4 separate regions of the Homo sapiens genome follow, and regions 2, 3 and 4 are each linked to region 1. The links are contacts of gene promoters, found by promoter capture Hi-C in blood cells and fetal thymus (Javierre and others, 2016). All regions are on one chromosome and are shown on one strand. Each heading gives the region's core, a stretch centred on a gene start or on the middle of the fragment in contact. The rest is flanking DNA. Distances are from core to core; before and after follow the strand shown.

Evidence for each region. The method cuts DNA at HindIII sites, captures the fragments that hold promoters and counts their contacts. A CHiCAGO score of 5 or more calls a contact.
Region 2: a contact is called between a fragment that was not itself captured here and the fragment with the promoter of PHOX2A in region 1, in 3 of 17 cell types (endothelial precursors, M0 macrophages and M1 macrophages). The highest score is 6.8, in endothelial precursors.
Region 3: a fragment that was not itself captured here is called in contact with the fragment with the promoter of PHOX2A in region 1 in 1 of 17 cell types (M1 macrophages); the score reaches 5.9 in M1 macrophages.
Region 4: a contact is called between a fragment that was not itself captured here and the fragment with the promoter of PHOX2A in region 1, in 2 of 17 cell types (megakaryocytes and naive CD4 T cells). The highest score is 5.6, in megakaryocytes.

The regions. Positions count from the first base shown.
Region 1 is chr11:72,242,607-72,246,041 of GRCh38, reverse strand. It overlaps PHOX2A (paired like homeobox 2A), which reads left to right and starts at 1,866. Exons shown (of 3, transcript NM_005169.4): 1 at 1,866-2,254. The coding sequence starts at 2,038. The HindIII fragment of the contact is 4,541 bases long and covers 1-2,712 here.
Region 2 is chr11:72,655,889-72,659,323 of GRCh38, reverse strand. All of the region lies in intron 1 of PDE2A (phosphodiesterase 2A), which reads left to right. Among named protein-coding and RNA genes, the nearest start is that of PDE2A-AS1, 3.2 kb to the left of the region's middle. RefSeq lists an enhancer at 2,166-2,667. The HindIII fragment of the contact is 1,965 bases long and covers 554-2,518 here.
Region 3 is chr11:72,553,235-72,556,669 of GRCh38, reverse strand. No RefSeq gene overlaps it. Among named protein-coding and RNA genes, the nearest start is that of LINC01537, 16 kb to the left of the region's middle. The HindIII fragment of the contact is 2,956 bases long and covers 451-3,406 here.
Region 4 is chr11:71,965,771-71,969,205 of GRCh38, reverse strand. All of the region lies in intron 3 of RNF121 (ring finger protein 121), which reads right to left. Among named protein-coding and RNA genes, the nearest start is that of IL18BP, 31 kb to the left of the region's middle. The HindIII fragment of the contact is 3,735 bases long and covers 1-3,435 here.

The DNA of each region.
Region 1 (3,435 bases), core at 617-3,116:
ATTAATACATAAATATGAATGTATTTACTACCACAGAACTATAGCTCAAAGTGGCTAAGATGGTAAATTTTATGTTATGTGTATTTTGCCACAATAAAAACATTTGACAAGAGGTAATTTGAGAAACCTCAAAGAAATCCCCTGGCATGGAGTGGTTCCGGAGATTGGGGATAGAGAGTCCTCCTGGGAAGCCCAGAACGGATGATGGGGGAAGGATTACCTGAGGAGAGGCGCACTCCCCTCTGTCCTGACAAACTTGGGGAGAATTCCAGGAGTCCTTCTATCAACCCCCAAGGACTTCAGCTGGAAACAAAGACACGCCCTTCCCGCGGCTTCTCCATGGGTCTAGGACTCCCCATCTACAAGACCTGCCAAGATCGGTGGAAGAGGCTGGGGGTTGAGTGGACGAGCTGCCCAACCCAGCTCAGGAGCGACGGAAAAGTTATCTGTTCCCTTCTCTTGGTAAGGATTCTGAATGTGTCCCGCTGTCCCACAGCACGAGGGAGCTGGTGACTGAATCTGTGCAGGGATGTCTGGGCCAGGTGCAGACTGAGTCTAGGTGGTTTCCCTGGAGAAAAAAAGCGGGGGGCCCTGGAGAACAGGGGTAAGAGACTGAAGAACAATAAAGAGGTCACGGGGTACGTTCCCTTTCTGACATCCATCGCATCCTGAGCCCAAGGTCACAGGAGAGGGTCGCATACTGCAGATGGAGCTGAGGGAACGGGGGGAGAGGCAGGCGGGCCCTGAAGGTGCAAGGTCGTGTGGGCCTCGGGACAAGTCAGGGTAGAGGGACCTGGCTCCCACGACCCTCCCTCTCCGCAGCCCCGTGGAGGCCGCACCCCAGAGCCTCCAGCATCATCCCTGGGCCCCTCTGCGCTCCAGCCCTCGTGTCTAAGCTCCCCGGAGGCGTTTTCTCTCCGCTCTCAGCCTCTGCTCCCGCGCTTGTGGCTGTCCCTGGCCCTGTCTCTCTCAGACTGTCCCTGGGCATATGTGTCTGTCTCACGATTCCTGCCTCTGTTTTGTCTCATCCCTCCCTTGCTCTCCACCGCAGTCCTGGTTGCCGTCCATGTCTCATCCCGACCCCTTCTGTCTCCATGCCTCCCTCACTCTCTTTCTCGTCCCCCTGTCTCCCTGTCTCCTCTTGTCTCTCTCTTAACCTCATCTCCTGTCTCTGCCCTGTCCCCGCTCCATCCTGTCTCTCTCTTACCCTCATCTCCTGTCTCTGCCCTGTCCCCGCTCCATCCTGTCTTTCGCTGTGTATGTTCCGTCCTTGTCTCCCTCTGTGTACCTGTATCTCTTGTCCCTGTCTCCATCACTGTTTCTGCCCCTTTCTCTCCCGGTCTCTGTTTCCTCTGTCTATCCACGTCCCTTCCCTGTCCCCATCCCAGGCTCCGTCTCTTCCCGGTCTCCATCCCCCTTCCTGGGCCGCCTCCGCAGTCTCCGCCGGGATGGGACCTCGCTGGGGGCGGGGCTGAGGGGCCAGATCGGAATAACTCGGTTATCAGAGCGAATTGAATTAACTTCTTCACACGAGCGCCGCCAGGCCTGCCTCCCCTCCCTTCCGCGGGGCCGCAGGTGGGGAGGCCCGGGAAAAGGGTCGGGACCCTCTGGCCTCGGACGCTGTGTAGAGACCGAAGGTCTGGTCCGGATTGGGGCAGGATAGGGACTCCGGGGATAGGGTCCCGCGCATCCCAGCTCCACACCTCTGAGCCCTAAGACGGCGGCGGGGACCCTTCGGGGTGGGGGTCGGGGCGGCTTTGGGCGGTGTCTGGGCCTCCTAGGCCCCGCCCCTTCGGAGCTCGCCCCGCCCCGCCCCCCTCCGCGGGGTCCTGCGCGTTAAAAGGCGCGCGGGCCGGGCTGGCTGCACTTGCGTTGCACCCGGGCTGAGTGCGGCCGCGACGGGGCGGGCGGACTCTCGGGCGCTCAGAGCTGGCCTCGGGTCCTCGGAGCCTGGCGCTCGAACCTCCCTTCCGACCTCCACCCGGACCCCGACCCCGACCCGGCCTGGCCCGGCCCCCGCCCCCGCCCCCCGGGCCGATGGACTACTCCTACCTCAATTCGTACGACTCGTGCGTGGCGGCCATGGAGGCGTCCGCCTACGGCGACTTTGGCGCCTGCAGCCAGCCCGGCGGCTTCCAATACAGCCCCCTGCGGCCCGCTTTCCCCGCGGCAGGGCCGCCCTGCCCCGCGCTCGGCTCCTCCAACTGCGCACTTGGCGCCCTACGCGACCACCAGCCCGCGCCCTACTCGGCAGGTGAGCGCAGCCCCGGCCCAACCCTCCCTCCAATTCCTGCAGAATCCCTGGGCCCGCTCGCCAAGTGAATGCGACTGTCCCCCTCAGCCGCCCCCATTCCTGCCTTGGCCAGACCCTCCAATGCCCCGAGAGACCCCCAGAATACGAGGTTCTCCTCCGCAGGAATGAGCCTCACCCTCTCATCTCTCCTGTTCCTTTTTCTCGTTGCCAAATCTCTGTCTCGTGCCCTTCAGGTCAAGGAAATATATCCCCATCCAGCTCTGGGCCCCTTACCAGGCCTTCCCCTCACCACCTGCAAAGACTGACCACTAAACCTCTACAAGCGCTGGATCTTTGAAAAAGGCTCCCAGCCCAGCCCTATCACCACTTATCACCCCACCCCATCACCGCTGCCCCACGAGATGCATGACCCCCAGCAAGGACCTCTCCAGGCAGCTGAGCTGCCCAGACGGGAAGCTTCCTAGAGCTCGCGTGGCCATCAGGCCCCTCCTGCCCTGTCTTGGACCCACGCTGCCTGGGACCGAACCCTTCTGTAGCCACCAAAACCAGATCCCGTAGCCCGCAATAAAGGGGCCCGGGTTTTTAAGCCACTTGTATTTCCCCATTCCCCCAGACTCTCCCAGCTAGAGTTCTGTAGAACCCGGAAGCAGCTCCTGCATCCCCAAGACTTTAGATCCAAGTCCCTGTCCAAACCCTCAACCTCACTGAGCTTCTCAGTCATCTCAGCCCTCTGATTAGAGTCCCAGCCTGCCCTATGTAATCTTATCGCCTTCCCTCCTGGGAAGACTGCCGGGGACCCAAGTAGAAGACTGGGGCCTAAGGGCCAGGCGCGGTGGCTCATGCCTGTAATCCCAGCACTTTGGGAGGCCAAGGCGGGTGGATCACTTGAGGTCAAGAGTTCAAGACCAGCCTAACCAACATGGTGAAACCCCATCTCCATTAAAAATACAAAAAAAAAAAAAAATTAGCTGGGCATGGTGGCCCACGCCTGTAATCCCAGCTACTTGGGAGTCTGAGGCAGGAGAATCGCTTGAACCTGGGAGGCAGAGGTTGCAGTGAGCTGAGACTGTGCCATTGCATTCCAGCCTGGGTGACAGAATGAGACTCGGTCTCAAAAAAAAAAGAAGAAGAAGAAGAAGAAGACTGGGCCCTAGGCTGGGGTTTGGGGAAGAGATACGAGA
Region 2 (3,435 bases), core at 287-2,786, 410 kb before region 1:
AGGGATTCGGATCAGACTCAAGAACACTTCCCAGTGGTGCTTATTTGAGAACTGGGACGGCAACACTAGATTGTAAACTCTGTGAGGGCAGGGATTAGGTCTGTGACTGCCTCCTCACCCAGCGGGAGACCAAGAATGAGACTTGGGAGTCAGACACAACTGGGTGTGACTCCTGCCTTTGCGGGTTGCCAGCACGTGGGCTTGGGCAGGTTCCTTTATCACCAGAAGCTTTGCCGTCTCCTCCACTATAAAGTGGGCACAATAACATCCACCTGCATGCATATTATAAGGATTGAGTGGGTTAAAATGTGCAAAGCAAGACTTTGTGCTCAGCTGGGCACAGCGGCTCACACCTGTAATCCCAGTACTTTGGGAGGCTGAGACAGAGTGCTTCAGCCCAGTAGTTTTGAGACCAGCCTGGGAAACATAGGGAGACCCTGTCTCTTAAAAGAAAAAAAAAATTAGAAGACTCGGTGCTGACTCTGCTAGACCAAAAGCCCACAAAGGCAGGGATTAGGTTTGGTTTGTGTTGTTCATTGTTGTATCTCAAGCTTCATTCATAGGACTGCACAAAGTAGGTGTTCAGTAAATGCTTTGTTGTGTGACTGCGTGTTAATTTTGTTCCCATTCTCCTGCTCCAAAAAAAAGTTCATTTTCCTGAGGTTGTGAGTGAAGAAAATAGGCAGTGTGGGCTGGGTGTGGTGTCTCATGCCTGTAATCCCCAGCACTTTGGGAAGCTGAGGCGGGAGGATCACTTGAGGCCAGGAGTTCAAGACCAGCCTGGGTAACTTAGCGAGATCCCATCTCTACTTCAAAAAAATTTAAAACAGAAAAAATCTAGGGTGTGTGGGGGGGCAGGTGGGGAGGTTGCAGGGGTGCCTCACAGGTGGGAGTCTGGCATTTCTCCTCCAGGCTGAGGAGGTGGTGACTTCCAGGGAAAGTCCTGGGAGGGATCAGAACCACAGCTCCAGCCTGCTTGGATGAGGGTGGTCTTCTGGCTGCCAGGAGGGTAGCTAGGTGGGAAGATCTGCCCTTGTTTCCTCCATAACCTGGGGTGGGAGGAGGAGGAGCTCCCAGCCCAATCTGATGGGGGAGACCAGAACCCTCACCCACCATTGCTGGCAGTTCAGAGAAGGCAGCGATAAGTCGGGGTGGGGCATCCTGAAAGGCTTCCCAGAGGATTGGATGGGAGGATTAGCTGAGAAGACATCCGGCATCCGTAAAATGGAGTAATGATTCTGACCCTGCAGGTTTTCTGGGAGGATTAAATGAGTTACATTTTAAAGATGCCTGGTACATGCCTGCCAGGAGAAGGCACAACATATGAACTCCCTCCCTCTTCCCTCCACCCCTCCTCAGCTCCTGTGACATCAGGAGGGACATGCCCTGCCCTGCTCACAGAGGCTGGGTGGGAGGCTCCCATCATGGCCTTCACTGAGGCTGCCTCTGCAGTTGGACCAAGCTGGACACACAGTAGGTGCACATAACAGATGGGGGCAGGTCTGTGCTTGTTTTACCAGGGTGTTGGGAGGCTGAGGGAAGGGCACAGCTGGATTGGGGTGATGGAGTTCAATCCCTGCTCCTCCCCCAGATCCAAGATCCTAAGACGCCTATGTCCAGTGGCTGCTCTGATCAGCTCTGACCAGCTCTCCTCACACCTCATAGGCCTTCCAGGGTTCAGGTGATGAATTAGTGATGACAGCATCCAGCATCGCTATGACAACCACATGGCACTCTTAGCCTCCAGTCAGGGCTCAGCCGCAGAGGCCAGAGACCCCTTTGGCTCTGGGCCTTTGTACTGGCGTGTGTGAGCGGGGCTGGGGCCTGAGGGAGATGGAGGAGTGGGAGGGGCAGGGGCCGGGGCATGGGGCTGCATCTGGCATGGACTGGAGTTCATTCAGATTGTTCCATCCAGAGGGACCTTGGGGACAGTTGTTTCTCTCCTTCCTTCCCCCTTTCTTTTCATTCCTCCATCCCTCCTCTTTCCCCTCCTCCCACTTCTTCTGAGCCTTGTTCCTGTTTGAGGCCCTGGGCTGCCAACCCTTTTCCCCTCCTCTGGGAATAAAGCCAGGCTCAGCCCTCACCCCGGGGAGCTGAGTGAGGTGGGGGACAGCCACCTTCTGGTCTAGGCCTCAGGGAAGGTGTGTGGGGACCACTGATGGCTTGGTGAGAGGGCCTGACCCAGCTGGGCCAGGGGCTGTGCAAGTGGCTGCTGACCCTGATGAGTGGGGAGGAGGTTTTCAGTAGAGAGGCAGGGTCAGAGATGAAGCAGCGTGGGATGGGGGAGCGACAGATGTTCAGAGTGGCCTAAGTGTGAGATGCGGAGCAGAGAACGTGGGAGGAATCGAGGCTCGAGAAGGACTGGGAGAGAGTGGATGCAGTGAGGAGTTTGAAGTTTGTCCCTGGGGGAAGAGGAGCCCTGAAGATTTTTGTTGTTGCTTCTTTGATTTTTAAATGGGAGGGTTCATTTTAGAGATGGGGAAACAGGCCCAGGGTGGGAAAGTGACTTGCTCAAGCTTAAGTCACTAGAGACAGACTGAGAGTACAGGCTCTGCTTGGGTCCTGCTGGACTCTAGCTGGGACCTCTTGCCCCAGACTTGCTGGCCAGGATTTTCCCAGGTAATCACTACCTCCGAGAAAGGCGAGGAGAGCCCATGGGTGACTTTGCCCTCAGTTTGAATGAAATTTGCATCAGCAAGGGCTATGCCGATAGTCCTTTCTGCTCGTGTCTGGCCTGTTTGGGGGTGGGAGTGGGGTGGAGGTGAGCATCCAGGGAAGGATCTGGGAAGTCAGGGGCTTGCCAGGGCCAGCAAGGCATTAGGGTCAGAGATGGATTCAAACTTGGGTCTTTGGAGACCCAGCCCAGACTCTGTGCTCCATCTCCTTCCTCCGTCTCTCAGGAGCCTTTGGCTGAGTTAGGCACCTACAGGAGGCAAGGGCCCCCCCGAGCCCCTCACATTCTCCTCAGGGCTCCTTCTGGCCCTGGGGCCTGATATTGGGCCTGCTGTGCTGGAACTTATCCAGGCAGAATAAACCTTTAGCCCCATTGTCCTGATGAAGAAACTGAGGTCCCGAGGTAACAGTGACTCATTCAGGGTTACAACAGGTCAGTGGCTGGGCTGGGCCTAGCGTCTGGCCCTCAGCTTGTCTACATGGCCCCCCTCGTGGCTCTCCCCTCGCCTCTCGCACCCCACTGTGCAGCATGGTTGGGCCTGCCAGCCTTGATGGATGGCTCTGCAGCTCAACCTCCCTCCCATTCCTCTCCGGATGCCGGGCCGTGAGCCTCCTAATCACCAGTCCTGCCTGGTGGCCGCCAAGCCATCCATCTCCCCACACAGCCTTGCCCAGCACAGGTGATTTTGTTTGGGGAGAAGGGGGGCACAGCAGGTCTTCCTCTGAGGCTGAGCCAAGAGTTTGGCTGCAGCCCCCACTCTG
Region 3 (3,435 bases), core at 679-3,178, 310 kb before region 1:
CAGTACTATCTCAGTGGTGATCACGGTCACACAAGTCACCTCATTCAACAGAAGAAAACAGTCTGCCCAGCAAAACCATGCCTGCATGACAAACAGCCAGGCCTCCCATCAATGGGAATCATGTTCACGACGGAATCCTGCTTGCATGACTGGCTGAACATGGATCAAAACAAACTGGCTTCCAGGACACTGGCAGGTTCCAGGATGCAAAACGACATTCACTATGAGTGGGGCATATAAAAGTAGGTCAGAGAAAAAGAACAAAATTTATACTATGTTGCCATCAAATAAATTCTAAAATATCACCAATGGAAAAAAATCCTCCTTAAAGAAATGTCACCCCAAACTGCCCCTAAGCATCTGTTTTTAATCTCTTCATGTGACTCCTCATCCCTGGGTCTTCCTAGTGACCAAAACACAGGCCCCCAATTTTGTTTTCTCTCTTAAGCTTTTAGTTTTCCGTGTCACTTTTCTAAGTTGTGGGATGTGCTTCCCATGGACCCTCTTGACGGCTGGCAGCTGCCCGCCAAGGGGAAGCATCTAGACAGTAGAATGCAGTGGTTCAGGGCATGATCTCTAGCATCAGGCAGAACTGCTTCAAGTCCCTGCTCTGCCATTTCCTTGCTGCATGGCTTTGTGTAAGGCTGTTAACTTTCCCAAGTCTCAGCTTCCTCATCTATAAAATGGGAATAATGATAAACATTCTTTTTTTCTTTTTTTTTTGAGACGGAGTCTTGCTCTGTCGTCCAGGCTGGAGTACAGTGGCATGATCTCGGCTCACTGCAGCCTCCGCCTCCCGGGTTCAAGCAATTCTCCTGCCTCAGCCTCCCAAGTAGCTGGGACTATAGGCGCACGCTGCCATGCGTGGCTATTTTTTTGTATTTTTAGTAGAGACAGGGTTTCACTATGTTGGCCAGGCAGGTCTCAAACTCCTGACCTCATGATTCGCCCGCCTCGGCCTCCCAAAGTGCTGGGATTACAGGCATGAGCCACCGCCCCGGCCACAAACCTTAAGAGATAAACAAATGACCAGCAAACTTCTGAAAAAATGCTCAACATCACTAATGATCAGGGAAATGCAAATCAAAATTACGATGTGATACAATCTTATTCCTGCAAAAATGACCGTGATAAAAAAAATCAAAAAATTATAGATGTTGGCGTGGATGTGGTGAAAAGGGAACACTTTTACATTGTTGGTGGGAATGTAAATTAGTAAAACCATTGTGGAAAACAGTGTGGAGATTCCTTGAAGAACTCAAAGTAGAACTACCATTTGATCCAGCAATCCCACTCCTGGGGTATCTGCCCAGAGGACAAGAAGTCATTATACAAAAAAGATATTTGTATGCGCATGTTTATAGCAGTACAGTTTGCAATTGCAAAAATATGGAACCAGCCCTAATGCTCATCAATCAATGAGTGGATGAAGAAATTGTGGTATGTATGTATATATAGGAATGAAATATATAGGTATGTGTGTATGTATGCATGTATAGGAATGAAGTAATGGCATTTGCAGCAATCTGGATGGAATTGGAGACCATTATTCTAAGTGAAGTAACTCAGGAATGGAAAACCAAACATCGTATGTTCTCATTTGTAAGTGGGAGCTAAGCTATGAGGATGCAAAGGCATAAGAATGATACAATGGGCTTTGGGGACTTGGGGGAAAGGGTGGGAGGGGGTTGAGGGATAAAAGACTACACATTGGATACAGCGTACACTGCTCAGGTGATGGGTGCACCAAACTCTCAGAAATTACCACTAAAGAACTTATTCATGTAACCAAACACCACCTGTTCTCCTAGTGACATTTTAAAACCTAGTGACATTTTTAAAAAATAATAAACCTTGTTAAGGCTGCTGTGAGGATATTTAAGGCATGAGAGGTTTCAGCCACTGTTAAAGCTGCAGCTCTCTGAAGTGCAGGGCTCCATGAAGGTGCATTTCTGGGAAGGAGGGAGCTCATTCCTCATTTTGTCTTCAGACAAAGACAGAGGGGCCAGAAGGGACTCCCAGGAAGAGGGCTTTAGCTTCAGACACAGAAGAGCAGAAGAGACTTGGGTTCAAAACAGACAACTATAGCACTCCAGGTTGGTAGCTGTTGTGGGTTGAACTACGTCCTCCAGTCTCTAGATCTGTGCAAGTCCTCACCTCCACTATCAATGAGTGTGAAATAGGGTGTTTTTTTGAAGGTGTGATCAAGTTAAGATGGATCATATTGTGGTGAGCTGTAATCCAGCATCTGGTGTAAGAAGACTTATGAGAAGAGGGAAATAACACAGACGCACAGGAAGAAGCCCATATGAAGACGGAGGCAGAGACTGCAGTTGTGCTACCACAAACCAAGGAACCGAAGCTAGCAATCTCCAGAGGCTGGAAGAGGCAAGGAGAGATCCCTAGAACCTTCAGAGAGAACACGGCCGACACCACTGTGATTTCAGCCGTTCAGCCTCCAGAACTGTGAGACCATACATTTCTGTTGTTTGAAGTCACCCGTTTGTGACCGTTAGTTCCAGCAGCCCTAGGAAACCAACACGGTGAGTGGGTCAGGGAGGGACCCCTCAGGTCACAGGACATAGATAGATGGGAGGGAGGAGGAGACTTAGCTGATGACCATCATTTTCCAGCTTGGCATCTTGGGTCCAGCTGGCAGGATAGCCCAATCCCCGAAGACCATCTGGGATGCACACACAAGAAGCTGGCCCCCTTGACTCAAGGGGGCGCAACTGCTCCATGCCATCTATGATTTATGCTCCAGACCCTCCTTCCCCAATCAGGCCATGGCTGCCTCCACCTTAGACCACATCCTTCTGCAGCTCTTTCACGTTTCCTGGCCTGCTTGCCTAATTCCCTGACAGGTTGTTTCTACAAGCACTCCCATCCATCAGCCATGTGGTCATCTGTCCCTCACAGAATGCTCATTACACACTTCCCCAGCCCCAGCCCTGGGCTCACTGCTGGGGTAGAGGGGAGAGAGCATTAAGGCAGGGGTCCTGCCCTGAGGGAGCTCACAATAACCGGAATGAAATGTTAATGGATTAATTCAACACATGTTTATTGAAAACATATTATGCGCTGTTCCTGACCAGGGATTGGAAAGGCTGCAGAGGTAAACAAAACCAGACAGCAAGCACACAGACTAGCCGAGAAACAGACACTAATCAAATAAAACCAAAGCAAAAATAAAACTGCAACTGGGCCATTAAGGAAAAGTAGGTGATGCCACAAGAGTCTACATGAGGGGATTTGACCTAATTATGGTGGTCAGAGGGGTCACAGTAGACGGAGAGATGCCTGGGCTAACACCTGAGGTATAAGAGGCAAAGAGGGGAAGAAACAGTTTGTGCAAAGGTCTGGAGGCAGGATGAGGCCCAACAAGAAGGAAGAACTTAAAGAAGCTTTACTAATTTATTATAAAGGATACAACTC
Region 4 (3,435 bases), core at 441-2,940, 280 kb after region 1:
TATGAAAAATCCTAAGAGGGGCCAGGCACGGTGGCTCACGTCTGTAATCCCAGCACTTTGGGAGGCCGAGGCAGGTGGATCACCTGAGGTCAGGAGTTCGAGACCAGCCTGACCAACATGGTGAAACTCTGTCTCTACTAAAAAATACAAAAATTAGCCGGGCATGGTGGCAGACACCCATAATCCCAGCTACTTGGGAGGCTGAGGCAGGAGAATCACTTGAACCCAAGAGGCGGAGGTTGCAGTGAGCCGAGATCGCGCCACTGCATTCCAGCCTGGGCAACACAGCAAGAGCCTGACTCAAAAAAAAAAAAAAAGAAAGAAAGAAAAAAGAAAAATCCTAGGAGGATGTACCAAAATCTTCTCTTGGCATATATCTAGGAATTAAACTCCCAGATCATAGGGAGTTTAATTTAAAAACAGTTTGAAACTGTTTTTCAAAGTTGTTTCTCCACAAAGGAAACAATATAACTGAGCACAGCCCCAGCGTGGGACTAGAAAGGATCAACGAATATCTACTGACTGAACAAATAAATAGACAGTACTCAATAAATGCTAGCTAGTGTTATTAATTATGTCTACGTAATTACATAGGTGGTAATGTCCCAACTATATTTATGCTCTGCTTCTCCTCTCTAGAACTGACCTTTAACCTACAGCAGATTTGAGAATGAGAGGTCCACAAGAATTGTAAAATTGGTAGCTATGGCTATTACCTAAAATATGCCTAGGCAGGCAGAAGAACTTTATAAGAACCAGGATAGAAAATCAGGAACAGCAAGATGGGCCATCCAAACAGAATAGCAAACAATAGAGTACTTAGCCAACAAGATCGTTCATAAATTGGGCTGGGGGCAGTGGCTCACACCTGTCATCCCAGCACTTTGCGAGGCCGAGGCAGTTTGATCACTTGAAGTCCAGAGTTCGAGATCAGCCTGGCCAACATGGTGAAACCCCTTCTCTACTAAAATACAAAGAGTTAGCTAGGCATGGTGGCAGGAGCCTGTAATCCCAGCTACTTGGGAGGCTGAGGCAGGAGAATCGCTTGAACCGGGGGCAGAGGTTGCAGTGAGCCGAGAGCATGCCACTGCACTCCAAACTGGGCGACAGAGCAGGACTTCATCTTAAAAAAAAAAAGATCGTTCATAAATCTAATCTATAAAAATTTTTCTACCAATTCTACAAATAAAATCAAATGACAAACTGGGGAAAGATATCCGTAGCAAATTATGTCAGAAGGCTTATTCCTGACCTACAAAGAGCTCTTACAAATCAGTAAGAAACATTCCAAAAGAAACCTGAGCAAAGGAAAGAAAATGTACCAAATATATCATATGGCTCAAGCTGTGAATAATACATCTTGTGAATAATACTTACATATAATACTTAATAATGTAAACAATGAATATTTATTTAAAAATTGGGAGGAGGAAATGTTTGTAGTATGTAACGGGTATAGGTATAGCAGTAAAAGATAATTATTACCGCCAGGCACAGTGGCTCATGTCTGTAATCCCAACACTTTGGGAGGCCAAGGTGGGCAGATCACGAGGTCAGGAGATCGAGACTATCCTGGCCAACATGGTGAAACCACGTACTAAAAATACAAAAATACATTTGTACTAAATACAAAATACTAAATACTATTGTATTTTGTACTAAAATACATTTGTACTAAAAATACAAAAATTAGCTGGGTGTGGTGGCATGAACCTGTAGTCCCAGCTACTTGGGAGGCTGAGGCAGAAGAATCGCTTGAACCCAGAAGGCAGAGATTGCAGTGAGCCGAGACCATGCCATTGCACTCCAGCCTGGGTGACAGAGTGAGACTCCGTCTCAAAAAAAAAAAAAAAAAACAAAAAAAACCCACATAATTATTACCTTCCAAAGTAGGAAGTCAATATATAATATTTAAAAGTAGAAATTTATACATCAGTATAAACATGTTATTTAAAAAACATAAATATTATATTTAAATATAATAAAGTAGAAATTTATATCAGTATAAACATGTTATTTAAAAAACACAAATATTGGCCGGGCGCGGTGGCTCACGCCTGTAATCCCAGCACTTTGGGAGGCCGAGGCGGGTGGATCATGAGGTCAGGAGATCGAGACCATCCTGGCTAACAAGGTGAAACCCCGTCTCTACTAAAAATACAAAAAATTAGCCGGGCGCGGTGGCGGGTGCCTGTAGTCCCAGCTACTCGGGAGGCTGAGGCAGGAGAATGGCGTGAACCCGGGAAGCGGAGCTTGCAGTGAGCCGAGATTGCGCCTCTGCAGTCCGCAGTCCGGCCTGGGTGACAGAGTGAGATTCCGTCTCAAAAAAAAAAAACAAAAAACCCACAAATATTATATTTAAATATAATAAAGTAGAAATTTATACATCAGTATAAACATGTTATTTAAAAAACGCAAGGCCAATTGTGGTGGCTCATGCTATAATCCCAACACTTTGGGAAGCTAAGGCAAGAGGATCACTTAAGGCCAGGAATTCAAGACCAGCCTGGGCAATATAGTGAGAGCCAACTCTACAAAAAATTAAAATATATATATATTAGCCAAGCGTGGTGGTGTGTACCTGTAGTCCTAGCTACTTGGGAGGCTGAGGCAGGAGGATTGCCTGGGCCCAGGTGTTTGAGGCTGCAGTGAGCTATGATGGAGCTGCTGCCCTCCAGCCTGGGTGACAGACTGAGATCCTGTATCTTAAAAAAAAAAAGTATCAGAAATGAACTAAAAAAGTTATTAATAAAAGTAGTTGCCACAGAAGAATCAGCGACTGACAGAGTTGGGCAGGGGACCAATGTGTTTTGCTTCTGAAGTCTTGTAGAACTATCTGACTTTTAAAACTATGGTATGTATTACTTCGATAAAAATGGAAATATCAGGCCAGGCACGGCGGCTCACACTTGTAATCCCAGCATTTTGGGAGGCCAAGGTGAGCGGATCACCTGAGGTCAGGCATTCGAGACCAGCCTGACCAACGTGGAGAAACCCTGTCTCTACTAAAAATACAAAATTAGCTGGGCATGGTGGCGCACGCCTGTAATCCCAGCTACTCGGGATGCTGAGGCAGGAGAATCACTTGAACCTGGGAGGCAGAGGTTGTGGTGAGCTGAGATTGTGCCATTGCACTCCAGCCTGGGCAACAAGAGGGAAACTCTGTCTCAAAAAAAATGTATCAAATATAAATCTAGTCAATGATATGAACAAATAATTGAAAGAAGCCAAATGACCACTAAGCATGAAAACATGCTCAACTTCACTAATAATCAGAGAAATACTTAATAAAATCAGGTATTTTCACCTTATCACACTGACAAAGATTAAAAATACTGACTATACCCTACACCTTCTTTAACACTGGGTAACAGCTCTGTTAAATCTGTGTTGATGGATTGTAAACTATAATAGCTATAACTTTCTTGGAGGGCA